2 separate regions of the Homo sapiens genome follow, and region 1 is linked to region 2. The links are contacts of gene promoters, found by promoter capture Hi-C in human tissues and cell types (Jung and others, 2019). All regions are on one chromosome and are shown on one strand. Each heading gives the region's core, a stretch centred on a gene start or on the middle of the fragment in contact. The rest is flanking DNA. Distances are from core to core; before and after follow the strand shown. Region 1 holds the start of CAMSAP1 (calmodulin regulated spectrin associated protein 1). Region 2 holds the start of BRD3 (bromodomain containing 3).

What was found. The method cuts DNA at HindIII sites, captures the fragments that hold promoters and counts their contacts. A contact is called where the count stands out against the background at its distance.
Region 1: the fragment with the promoter of CAMSAP1 here is called in contact with the fragment with the promoter of BRD3 in region 2 in 1 of the 25 tissues and cell types used here (lymphoblastoid cells).

The regions. Positions count from the first base shown.
Region 1 is chr9:135,903,687-135,908,821 of GRCh38, reverse strand. It overlaps CAMSAP1 (calmodulin regulated spectrin associated protein 1), which reads left to right and starts at 1,276. Exons shown (of 17, transcript NM_015447.4): 1 at 1,276-1,822. The coding sequence starts at 1,663. CAMSAP1-DT (CAMSAP1 divergent transcript) reads right to left here and starts at 989. Exons shown (of 2, transcript XR_007061860.1): 1 at 1-989. RefSeq lists silencers at 708-1,387, 1,428-1,537, 1,618-1,687, 2,088-2,137 and an enhancer at 2,784-3,983. The HindIII fragment of the contact is 39,877 bases long and covers 1-5,135 here.
Region 2 is chr9:134,064,804-134,070,037 of GRCh38, reverse strand. BRD3 (bromodomain containing 3) reads left to right here and starts at 2,012. Exons shown (of 12, transcript NM_007371.4): 1 at 2,012-2,093. RefSeq lists silencers at 1,407-2,136, 2,317-2,566. The HindIII fragment of the contact is 16,877 bases long and covers 1-3,567 here.

The DNA.
Region 1 (5,135 bases), core at 27-2,526, 1.8 Mb before region 2:
TGCTCAAGACAGTACTTCTGCAGATATCCTTACCCTCGACGCCCACGTCCCGCCGGTCTTTGCTCAAATAAGTGCCCTCCTCCTATGGCTTTCCTTGACCGCTCTGCCCTGTCCACCTCGTGTTCTTTTCAGACGGCTGACTCAAGAAAAAATAGACAATCTCAACAGACCTATAACAAGTGAAGAGACTCAATTAGTAACCAAAAAACTATGAATCAAATAAGTCATCAAAAAAGCCCAGGCCCAAATGGCTTCAAGGTTGAATTGAAGCCTGCACGTGGGTTGGTATGTGAATGACGGACTGCCTGGGTCCTCTGGGCACCTGGCATTTCATACATGTTCCGCCTCTGGCACGGGGTGTCTCGACCAGGTACAGACAGGCTGGGAGCCCCGCGCCGGGCGCCCGCTCCCTGGAAGCTCGACCTCTCCCTGCCGTCAAGGCGCCGGTGGGCGGCACGTGGGCCGGCTCTCCCGGGGGCAGTTCTCTATTTCGCTGGTGAGGTTCTCAGACCAAATCCTCGGAATGCAAACTCTCACGGCGTTCCCGTAATTCTCAGCCCAGCGCGGGCCCCGACGCAGGCTCCAGGGGAACGAAGTCAGCGTCCCTTCCGGGGGATGCGCCGGCGGGGCCGCACCTGTTTCTGCCTCAGGGGTCCAAACGCCCACCTTCCCTGCACCGGGACGGGGGTCTGGAGACTGGCACGTCCACCTGGTGCCCGTCTGCTGGGCTGTCGCCTGCCGAGGTCGCCGCCGGCCACACCCACGAGGTCCCCAGGGCGCCGGCGGCGAGACCTCGGCCGGCCAGGGGGCCGGGCTGTGGCTGAGGTGGGACGAGCCAGGGCCGGGGAGGAGACACGGCGCTAAAAGAGGGCAGCTGCGGGCTCGGCAGGATCCCCGCCGCCGACCCACTCCACCCACCCCGCGCCGCCCACTCCCCGCTGCCTACGCCGCGCTCCACACCGCGGGCCTTAGAGCCTGAGGAAAGCAACGGGGCAGGCGCGGACCAGGGCGGGTCCTACTGCGCCTGCGGAAGCGGGCGGGGAGGGGCGGGTCGACGCTCACTGCGCCTGCGGAAAGGGGCGGGGCAGGCACAGGCCTGCGGGTGCCACCTACTGCGCCTGCGGAAAGGGGCGGGGCGGGCGCGGGCTGGCGGGCGGTGCCTACTGCGCCTGCGGAAAGGGGCGGGGCAGGCGCGAGAAGGGAGCGGAGCTGGGGGCGGGGTCGAGGGCGGGGTGGCGGGCGGTGCCTACTGCGCCTGTGCGAGGCCCCGGCGGTGAGCGCGCTCCCGCTCCTTGGCCACCGCCTCAGCCGCTGTCGCCGCCGCCGCCGCTCACCCGGGACCGCGCACGCGCTGCCACCGCCCCCGGCCCGCTCCCGCCCCCGCGCCCGCCCCCGCCCCCGGCCCGCGCCCTCCTGCCGCCGCCTCTTTGGGCCGCGGGCTCGGCACCTCCTCCGCTCGGGCTCAGCGCCCGCAGCATGCAGCAGCCGCGGGGGCGGCGACGGCGGCGGCTGTGAGGTGAGGCGGGGGCCGCGCTCGGGCGCCCCTCCCGGCTGGCCGGCTGCGGGGCCGAGTGGTGGCTCGGGGCGCACCGGGCCCGGCGCGGCGAGGGGCGGCGGCGCCTTTGTTGCGGCCGGGCCGCCGCCTCAGCCCTTTGTCTGCAGATGGTGGACGCGAGCGGCCGCGCCGCCGCCGAGGGCTGGAGGAAGATGGAGGCCCCGCCGGACGGCGCCGCCGACCTCGTGCCCCTGGACCGCTACGACGCGGCGCGCGCCAAGATCGCCGCCAACCTGCAGTGGATCTGCGCCAAGGCCTACGGCCGAGGTGGGCCGGGTGAGGGGCGCGGGGCGGGGGCCAGGGGCGCGGGCCGGGGCCGGGGGACGCGGCCGGGGTCCGGCCGGGTCGGGGTCCGCGCGCCGCGCCTTTGTGCCGCGTCCGCACAGGGTCGGGGCTGGGCCGGCCGCCTCCGAGGTCCTGGCGGCGCCCGGGCAACGCGGAGCGTGGGGACGCGGTCACCTGGCGAGTGGGCGTCCCTGCGGCGGAGGGCGGCGTGGGTCGGGGCTTCCGCTCCTATTTCGGGAGTGCCCCCAGCCTCCCGTTGGCGGCGGCGGCGGCGGGAAGGAGCTGCCCGGTTCTGGGCGCAGGGAGGGACCATGGGGACGCGGGGCCGCCGTCTGAGGCGCCGCTTCCCGGCGCGCCGGGCATCGTCCAGTGCTGGACCTGTGATTCCGAGCCTTGCACTTGTTATGAATTTTGATGCTTACAAGCTGTCAGCTGTTGAATTCCCCAACTAGAAATTGCGTATTCCGCGCATTGTGCTTAATCATAATGATCCCCTTTGGTTAATTCCTGTTTGGAAGAACTAGGTAACCTTGTTACTCAGTCCAGTTTGTTAGGCCCTAATGTGCTTAGTGGATTAAGACGCTTCTGTTTCGTGCCCTGGGAACAGGACAGACCTAGTGATTCTCGTCAGTGGCTGACTTCTTTATTAATTTCAGGTGCTTTGTTTCAGGTACAATTAAAGGTTAATATTTCTGCAATCCTCTTTTCATTTGAAGCATTCTTAAAATATTTGCCTTTATTCTGGTGAAAAATTACCCTTTTTAGAGTAAGACTAAAGGAGACAGCCCTTCCAGAGAAGAGTTCAGTTGACCAGTTTGGAAAACGCTGAGTAGGCGTTGCCCTGTTTGACAGTGGCCTGTGCCCCAGCTAGACTCGAGTTAGTCATAAGGACAAACGCGTTTTGTAAGTTTTAGGGATTAAATAACTCGCCTTATTTCAAACTGGTTTTTGTACTGTGTAAGTAGTAATTGGGAAAGAGTTTTTCCTTTGACAGTTTTCAGTTTTACAGTTCTTGTTTACTGGCTCAGTGGAACCTTAGTTTCTGTGTTGTAATGAGGAAGAAACACTGCTACATCCAAGACTTCACATGAGTTTTTGAGAACGGAATTGGTAAGATGTAGGTATGAAACTTGAGTCAGGTGCAAAGAACAGCCCGAGAGCGGACGCCTGGGTATCTTGCAGTCACTGCCGGCTGCGTGGGCTCACCTGCCTCACACCTTGTGTTAGTCACTGTTTTGCTTTTCTTTGTATTTTGCCGCATGTGCTTACACCACGAACTAGTTTTTACACCTTTGCCAATGATGTCTCTTTCTGAGACTGGCTTTTGTTATTCCCTTATCCCACGTTACGTTCTTAGGTTCTTCTTGACTTCATCTTCACTTTTCCACATTTCCGCTGCTGTGGAGTGTCTCACTGAGGACTGTTCACCGCAGCTGCTCGTGGGCGCTGGCTGGGCTCCCGTAGGTGCTGTGGAGCCCAGTGCATTCTTGGGCATGGCTCCTGGGATCCGAGCACAAAGTTTTACTCCTGCATGTTTTTTAAGATTTTATATGTGGAGAGGGCTGAGGGCTCAGGCAGCGGATGTTAGACAAATTGCTATAAAAAGAACTTTCACGATCTGCTTTCCAATTTCTTTAGCAAGGTGCATGCATTTTTTATTTCATTGCATTTAGCTTTGGCATTCAGCATGGGATTTGTCAGCCATCCAGAAATAAGTACGCGTGTCTCTGTGTTAGTATTGGGTTCGTCTAGTTTCACTTCCGGTACCAGGTCACTCTTTAATCCTTGTTGACTCATCGGATGATGAATTCACAATCTGATACTAACATGGGCTTTTGAGTTCTGGAATTATTAAAAGGTGGGCATTTAAAGAAAAGAAACATGAACAGGAGCTGGAGAAGACTGGACACCATCTTAGGAGCTGAGACTGGAGTGCCCCTTACTGGTGGGTGACAGTGCCTTCGCACATCAGACTCCGATTTTAGGAGGTCTGGTTTCCACTTTTTTTTTTTTTTTTGAGACGGAGTCTCGCTCTATCGTCCAGCCTGGAGTGCAGTGACGCGACCTCAGCTCACCGCAACCGCCACCTCCTGGGTTCAAGCGATTCTTCTGCCTCAGCCTCCCAAGTAGCTGGGATTACAGGCGTGCGCCCCCACTCCCGGCCAGTTTTTGTATTTTTCGTAGAGACGGGTTACTCCATATTGCCAGGCTGGTCTCGAACTCCTGACCTCACGATCCGCCTGCCTTGGCCTCCCAAAGTGCTGGGATTACAGGTGTGAGCCACCACGCCTGGCTGGTTTCCACTTCTTTTTGCCGAGAGAGGGCTTTTACATTCTATAGTTTGCTTCACAGGGGGAGCATATGTAATTACAAAAAAAAAAGTTTTTAAGCCAGGTGTGGTAATTTATACTTACAATTCTAGTGACTCGGAGGCAGAGGTAGGATGATCACTTGAGGCCAGGTGTTTGAGATGGAGTCTGCCTGTGTTTCCCAGGCTGGTCTCCAACTCCTGGGCTCCAGTGATCCTCCTGCTTCAGCCTCGTGTGTAATTTTCTTTTTTCCTTTTTTTTTTTTTTTTTGTGGAGGACAGGGTCTCGCTCTGTCGGCCAGGCTGGAGTGCAGTGGTGTGACCTCGGTTCACTGCAACCTCCGCCTGCCGGGCTCAAGTGATCTTCCCTCCTCAGCCTCCCGAGTAGTTGGGACTACAGGTGCACCACCACGCCTGGCTAACTTTTGTATTTTTTGTAGAGATGGGGGTTTTCTTTAAACAGTTTTTATTTTTGTAAAAATGGGGTCTGTTTGCCCAGGCTAGTTTCGAACTCCTGGGCTCAGGTGATCTGCCCGCCTCGGCCTCCCAAAGTGCTAGGATTACAGGCATGAGGCACCGCACTTAGACCTCCTGTGTAAAACTGTGTAAAAATTGAGACTCTCTTTAAATTTACAGGTTGGAGAGATCGTAATTCAGATGACCGAAATACTTGCCTCAGCTCAGCTGAAGTGATTTACGTTGTTGGGGTCACAGCCTAGGTGTGAGATTCGCTGCTACCCAGTGTGGCTGTATCTTGTAAGAGACTGAGTGGGGAGGGGGTTTTGGTAGGACAGTGTGGGTCCCCCCAACACTTCTTCTAATCCAGCAGCATTTGCTTTGTTTCTTCTTTTGAATGTCTCCATGTACCTCTCCAGCTTAGTTTTCAGTTAATCAGACATGGTTCTTTCAATATGGATGTTTTAATTGGAAATCGCTTTTGGGGGTATGATGGTGAAAGTGGCTTCAATATTTAACTTGTTAAAGGCT
Region 2 (5,234 bases), core at 763-3,262:
ATACCCAAGGAGATGAGATGCAGACAGCAGGAATGGGTTGCAGCCTCCAAGGTGGCTAACACAGAAGCCTGTAGGTTGAGGAACTGCACCGGGGGTTTGGGGACACAACCAGGATGGTAGTTCTAAGGGAACTGCCTGCAGATCCTCACCTCTCATATTCCCCCTCCCCGACCTTCCTGCGCCTGAGGACTGCACTTTGTCCATTTTGCCAACTAGAAAGGCAAGGCTGGAACCTCGTCCTAGAGCCTTGCCCTGGAGTGTGAGAAGGTCCTGGGCTCCCAGCAGAAACAGAGGGACAGGATTGGGAAAGGTGTTGGCTTCCCCTGCAAACTCTTCCTAAGACCCCGGGGCTTTGGGTCTCAGCCGTCCTGCAAATTGGCTCTGTGACCTTGGGCAGGACCCTTTGCCTCACTGAGCCTGTTTCCTTACCTGTCAGCCTGGAACAGAACACCTGCCTTCTGGGTGAGCATGGGGATGAATTGTCTCTGTGCTGGCACTCACTTTGTGAATATTGCATAGATGTGTGCATTTCAGGCAGTGGAGCTGCTGCTCAACTTGGAACACACCTGGGGACCCCAGGGGCTTGGGGTGGGTGCAGCCCACACAAGGAAACTCGACCTTGCAGTTGGCAGGTTCAGCAGGCACCAAGGAACCTCGTTTTGTTTTTGACGTTTTTATTGGGGTCTAATGTACACAACGTGTAACCACCTTAAGTTACAGCTGGATTAAAATTGATTTATGTGGCCGGGTGCGTTGGCTCACGCTTGTAATCCCAGCACTTTGGGAGTCCGCGGTGGGCGGATCATCTCACGTCAGGAGTTTGAGAACAGCCCAGTCAACACGGTGAAACCCCATCTCTACTAAAAAATACAAAAATTAGCCGGGCGTGGTGGCGGGTGCCTGTAATCTCAGCTACTCGGGAGGCTGAGCCAGGAGAATGGCTTGAACCCGGGAGGCGGACGTTGCAGTGAGCCGAGATCGAGCCACTCACTACACTACAGCACTCCAGCCTGGGTGACAAGAGCGAAACTAACGTCTCAAAAAAAAAAAAAAAAAACAAAAACCAAAAAAACAACAAAACCCCCCCCCCCACAACTTGATTTATGTGTAAACCCGAGTCGTCATCACCCAAAACAAGATGCAAAACGTGTCCACGGGCTGAACCTTTCAAGATACAGAAAAAGGGCCAGGGGTGGCCCTCTCCCGGAATCTCAGGCTGGGAACCTGGTATCTAGTTCCCGCCCCTCACTGGGCAGATGGGGAAACCGGGGCTTGGGGCGAGAAGGTCCCCAGGCAGAGCTGGGAGCACCCCTAACTCTTCGCCAGCTCTGGGGACTTGGCGCCCTCTCCAGCAACAGCGAACTTGGGCGCCCGCGCCCCAGCAAGTCGGGTGGGGGAGATGGTGACACGGAGGGCGCGGCAGAGCGCGGCTCCTCCCCGGGCGGGGCCGACCTGCCCGCGCGCACCGACGCCCCGCCCCCCGCCCCGCGCGCGCGCTCCCGCCAGGCTAATTAGGCGCGCGGTTTGTTTACAAACACGGGCTCCCGGCAGGTGCGCGCCGCCCCGCCCGTGCGCGGCCGGGGTTCGAGGGTGGCTCCCGCGGGCCTCGGGGTGCCCGGACGGGGGCTGCGGTGCTGGCTGCGTGCCCGCTTCTTCCATGCCGTCCTGGGGCACCGGAAAATCCGCCGCCAGGCGCTGTCCCCGACACGGGGTGAGGAGAGCCGTGCGGGCCCGGGCGGGGAACGGCCCACGGGGTCCCAGCGTTGTTGCCCTGCCGGGCGGGCGCCGAGCCCCGCCCCCGCGCGCCCCCCGGGCCAGGCCCGCTCTCGGCCGGGTCGGCGGGGCGGGCGGGGGCCCCCGGGGCGGGGCGCGGCGCCGGCGGGGCCGGGACATGTAGTCCGCGCGCCCGCGGCCTCCCCTGGGCGGCCCCGGCGCGGGCCCGGCCGCGGACTACGACTCCCGCCAGGCGCCGCGGCGCAGCGCATGAGCCCTGCTCGGCTCCGGCGCGTCTATTATGCTGCCGGGGCCGGCGAGCCAAAGAGGAGCCGGCCGCGCGGGCCGGGAGGGGACGGCCGCCGGAGCCGCGAGGCCAAGTACGCCTTTCTCTTGCTTCCTTGCGCGCGCGGGGCGGCGGGCGGCGCGGGCGGCGGCGGGCCGGGCTGGGCCGGGGAGCGCGGCCCCGAGCGCCCCGCGCAGTCCGCCGGCGCGTCCGGGTGAACCGGGCGCCCGGGGCCGCCGCCGCCGCCGCCGCCTTTGTGCGCGGCCACGATGCAACAAAGCGCGGCGGCCGCCCGGGGTCGCGGCGGCGGTGGCGGCGGCGGTGGCGCGGGCTCCGCTCCCCTCCTCCCGCTCCCGCTTGGCCGCCTCCGTCCCGGACTCGGGGCGTCGCTGCGGCCGGGGCGCGCAGCCCGGAGTTGGCGCGGCCCGCGCGCCCCGCGCCAGCCCGGCCTCCGCGCGCCCTCCCTCACGGAAGGGATTTTTTTCCCCCTTTCCTCCGCCCGCCATCTTTCGAAGGGGGAACCCAGGGAGGACGCGGAGGGGGAAGGTGCGCGCGGCGGCCCCGGCCTGCGGCCGTGCGCTCCGCGGGGCCACTTTCCCCGCGCCTGTTCCGCCGGCCTCGCTCCCGAGCCGTTGCTGGGGCCCGCGCCTGGGGACCGTCGCCGCGCGCCGCGGCCGGGGCGGGGGGCAAGGCCGGGCTCGGCCCTGGGCTCTGCGCGGCCTCCTCCCAGAGTTACGGGCCCAGAGCTGACTTTGAGCCCCCCTGAGTTGCCGGATTATTGCACCCAAACCAGGGGGAGACCCAGTTCCCGTTTTGAAATCAGCCTGAAAATCGCTTAATCCGGGCGAGGGCGAGTTGGAGCGGGAGGGACGGGGGTGCTTCCCCTCCTTCCCACTTTTGGGGGGCGCCGGAGTGACAACGTGATACAAGCCCATCCGGGGAGAAATGCGCACCCCGAACCGTGTACACCCACATGGCCCTGGTGGGCTCTCTGTGAATAAAGCTGGGGCGTGCGGGAAGTCTTATTCCACCGGTTGCTCGTTCGGGGGCAGGGCCGGGATGGGGGCTTCGCGCGGCCTCCTTTCCCTGGAGGGCGAGAACTCGGCCCGCCGAGACCCACCGGGGGCAGGGACCCGGCGTCCATCGTGTGGGTTCCTCCGTTCGACCCAATCCTTGAGTGGTTGCGATCTTTAATTTTGGTTGAAAGCTTTCTGCTCAGAAATAGATACTGGGATTTCTCCCCCTTACATTAAACTTGGTCATTGTCTGCAAAAGTTAACCAGGAGGGGAGACTGTAGTGCATTGGTGGGCAGAGTAATTGGGCTGGAACTGCAAGAGGCAGCTTCGTGTGTCCCGTCCTCCCCCGCCCTACCCTGTGAGAAGGAACAGAAGAGGAAAAGAGTTTTCTTTTTACCCTGCTCTTTTGTAGGCTTTTCCCCTTACTCTTTTCTTTAAAATGGAGGGTTTTTTTTTTTTCCTGGGTCCATGTAGTATGCCTGGGGAGATCCTGGAATCTATGCAAAGTTGTATGGCATTTTTCTGGGGAAAGTAGTTTGTTACTGGCTTCCAACGGGGTCTAAGGAAGGTCTGAACCCCTGCAAGGGGCTGGCCTCGGGGGTTAGGGAGCCCTCCCTCCGGGTTCTTCCCTGGCAGCCCTGATGCAGCCTCTCATTTGCAAATAAAGGTCTGTGTTTGCCGTTTTCTCTGTTGAGGCCTTGATGGGTGCTGGTGGTTACTGATCATGAAAGATAAGGCACACGCTGTAACAGGACGGGCTGCAGGCGAGCGAGGGGCATTTCTTTCTGACCTTCCGGGTAGCCTCAGAGGCCCGGTGCCTCAGCAGGGCACCGGGTGCCTGGAAAGACTGTGGGAGCAGCTCCAGCCTGAGCCCTGCCGTTGGGACATCCGGGGAGGAGGGATTTCAAAAGCTTTCTCCGAGTGGGCAGTCACTCCATTTTTATTTTTGTTTTGTTTTTAGAAAGTAGAGTAATTACTTTCCTTTGACAACAGCTCGCGCCTGCTTCGGAAGTGAGTGAGCTTTGAATGAAGGACGGGACTTGCAAACAGTGCCTGCCCTACACTCCGAAGTAGTCATACCCAGAAAGTGAAAGTGGGGGTGTGCAGAGCGAAGCAGCCAGGCCTGCTGCAGCCGGTGCTACCTTCCTCTACCCTCTTCCTCCAGGCTCTGGAGATGCCAGCCGCGGGAGCCCTGTGCACCAGGCGGCAGTGATGGCCTTGTGCGATTCCTGGTGCCACCAGGAAGTGCCACCACTTTCCCTGAGGCATGGTGGCTCAGGGTTTCCCAAGTGGGGTGATTGGCACAAAACCAACAGCTATGCCCAGTTGTCGATGGGAAGAGCCATGTTTTGCTGTGGATACACACGGTACCGGGGCGGGGTATGGGGAACCGGGGCCTACTCTTCCCAGCGTTGCTGCCTGGGAGGTGGGGGCATGCCTGAAGTCGTGCTGCGGGTCTCTTGGTTTTCAAAGCAGTTAACGCAGTTGGTCAGAGGATCCTCCTCTTGCTTCCTTGACCGGTCATCAAAGTATAACTGACCTGACGGGGTTCCTGTCCTAGGCAGGTTCCTTTTTTTTTTTTTTTCTCTTCTCCTCTTGAGATGGAGTCTCGCATTGTTGCCCAGGCTGGAGTGCAGTGGCACGATCTCAGCCCACTGTAACCTCTACCTCCCGGGTTCTAGCAATTCTCCTGCTTCAGCCTCCCAAGTAGCTGGGATTACAGGCGTCCGCCACCACGCCCAGCTAATTTTTTGTATTTTTAGTAGAGACAGGGTTTCACTGTGTTGGACAGGCTGGTCTCGAACTCCTCACCTCGTGATCCACCTGCCTTGGCCTCCCAAAGTGCTGGGATTACAGGCATGAGCCACCGTGCCTAGCCAGCAGGTCCCTTATATCACGAAGCCAGTATCTGGTTGAAGCTAGAAGGTAACTGGATGAATCATGGTAGAATGCAAGGCTTCTTGCCGTAAAAGGTTTTGGAACTTGCGGGTCTGCCTTGGGCCTTCCCGACCCCTGTGGCTCCGCCCCCTTGTTGGAGCAGAAGAGATGCACAGGTAGCAAAGCATGATGGGGTGCCAGGTGCATTTGGGTCAGCGTTTGCCAAGAATGGCCTTGCTCCTGTGTTTTTGTTGGTACTGCCACCTTGTAGAGGTGCCCAGCTGGTGGCGGAGCATAGGGTTTTCTTTGCCTATTCTCCTTCCTGTGAAATCATGGGCAC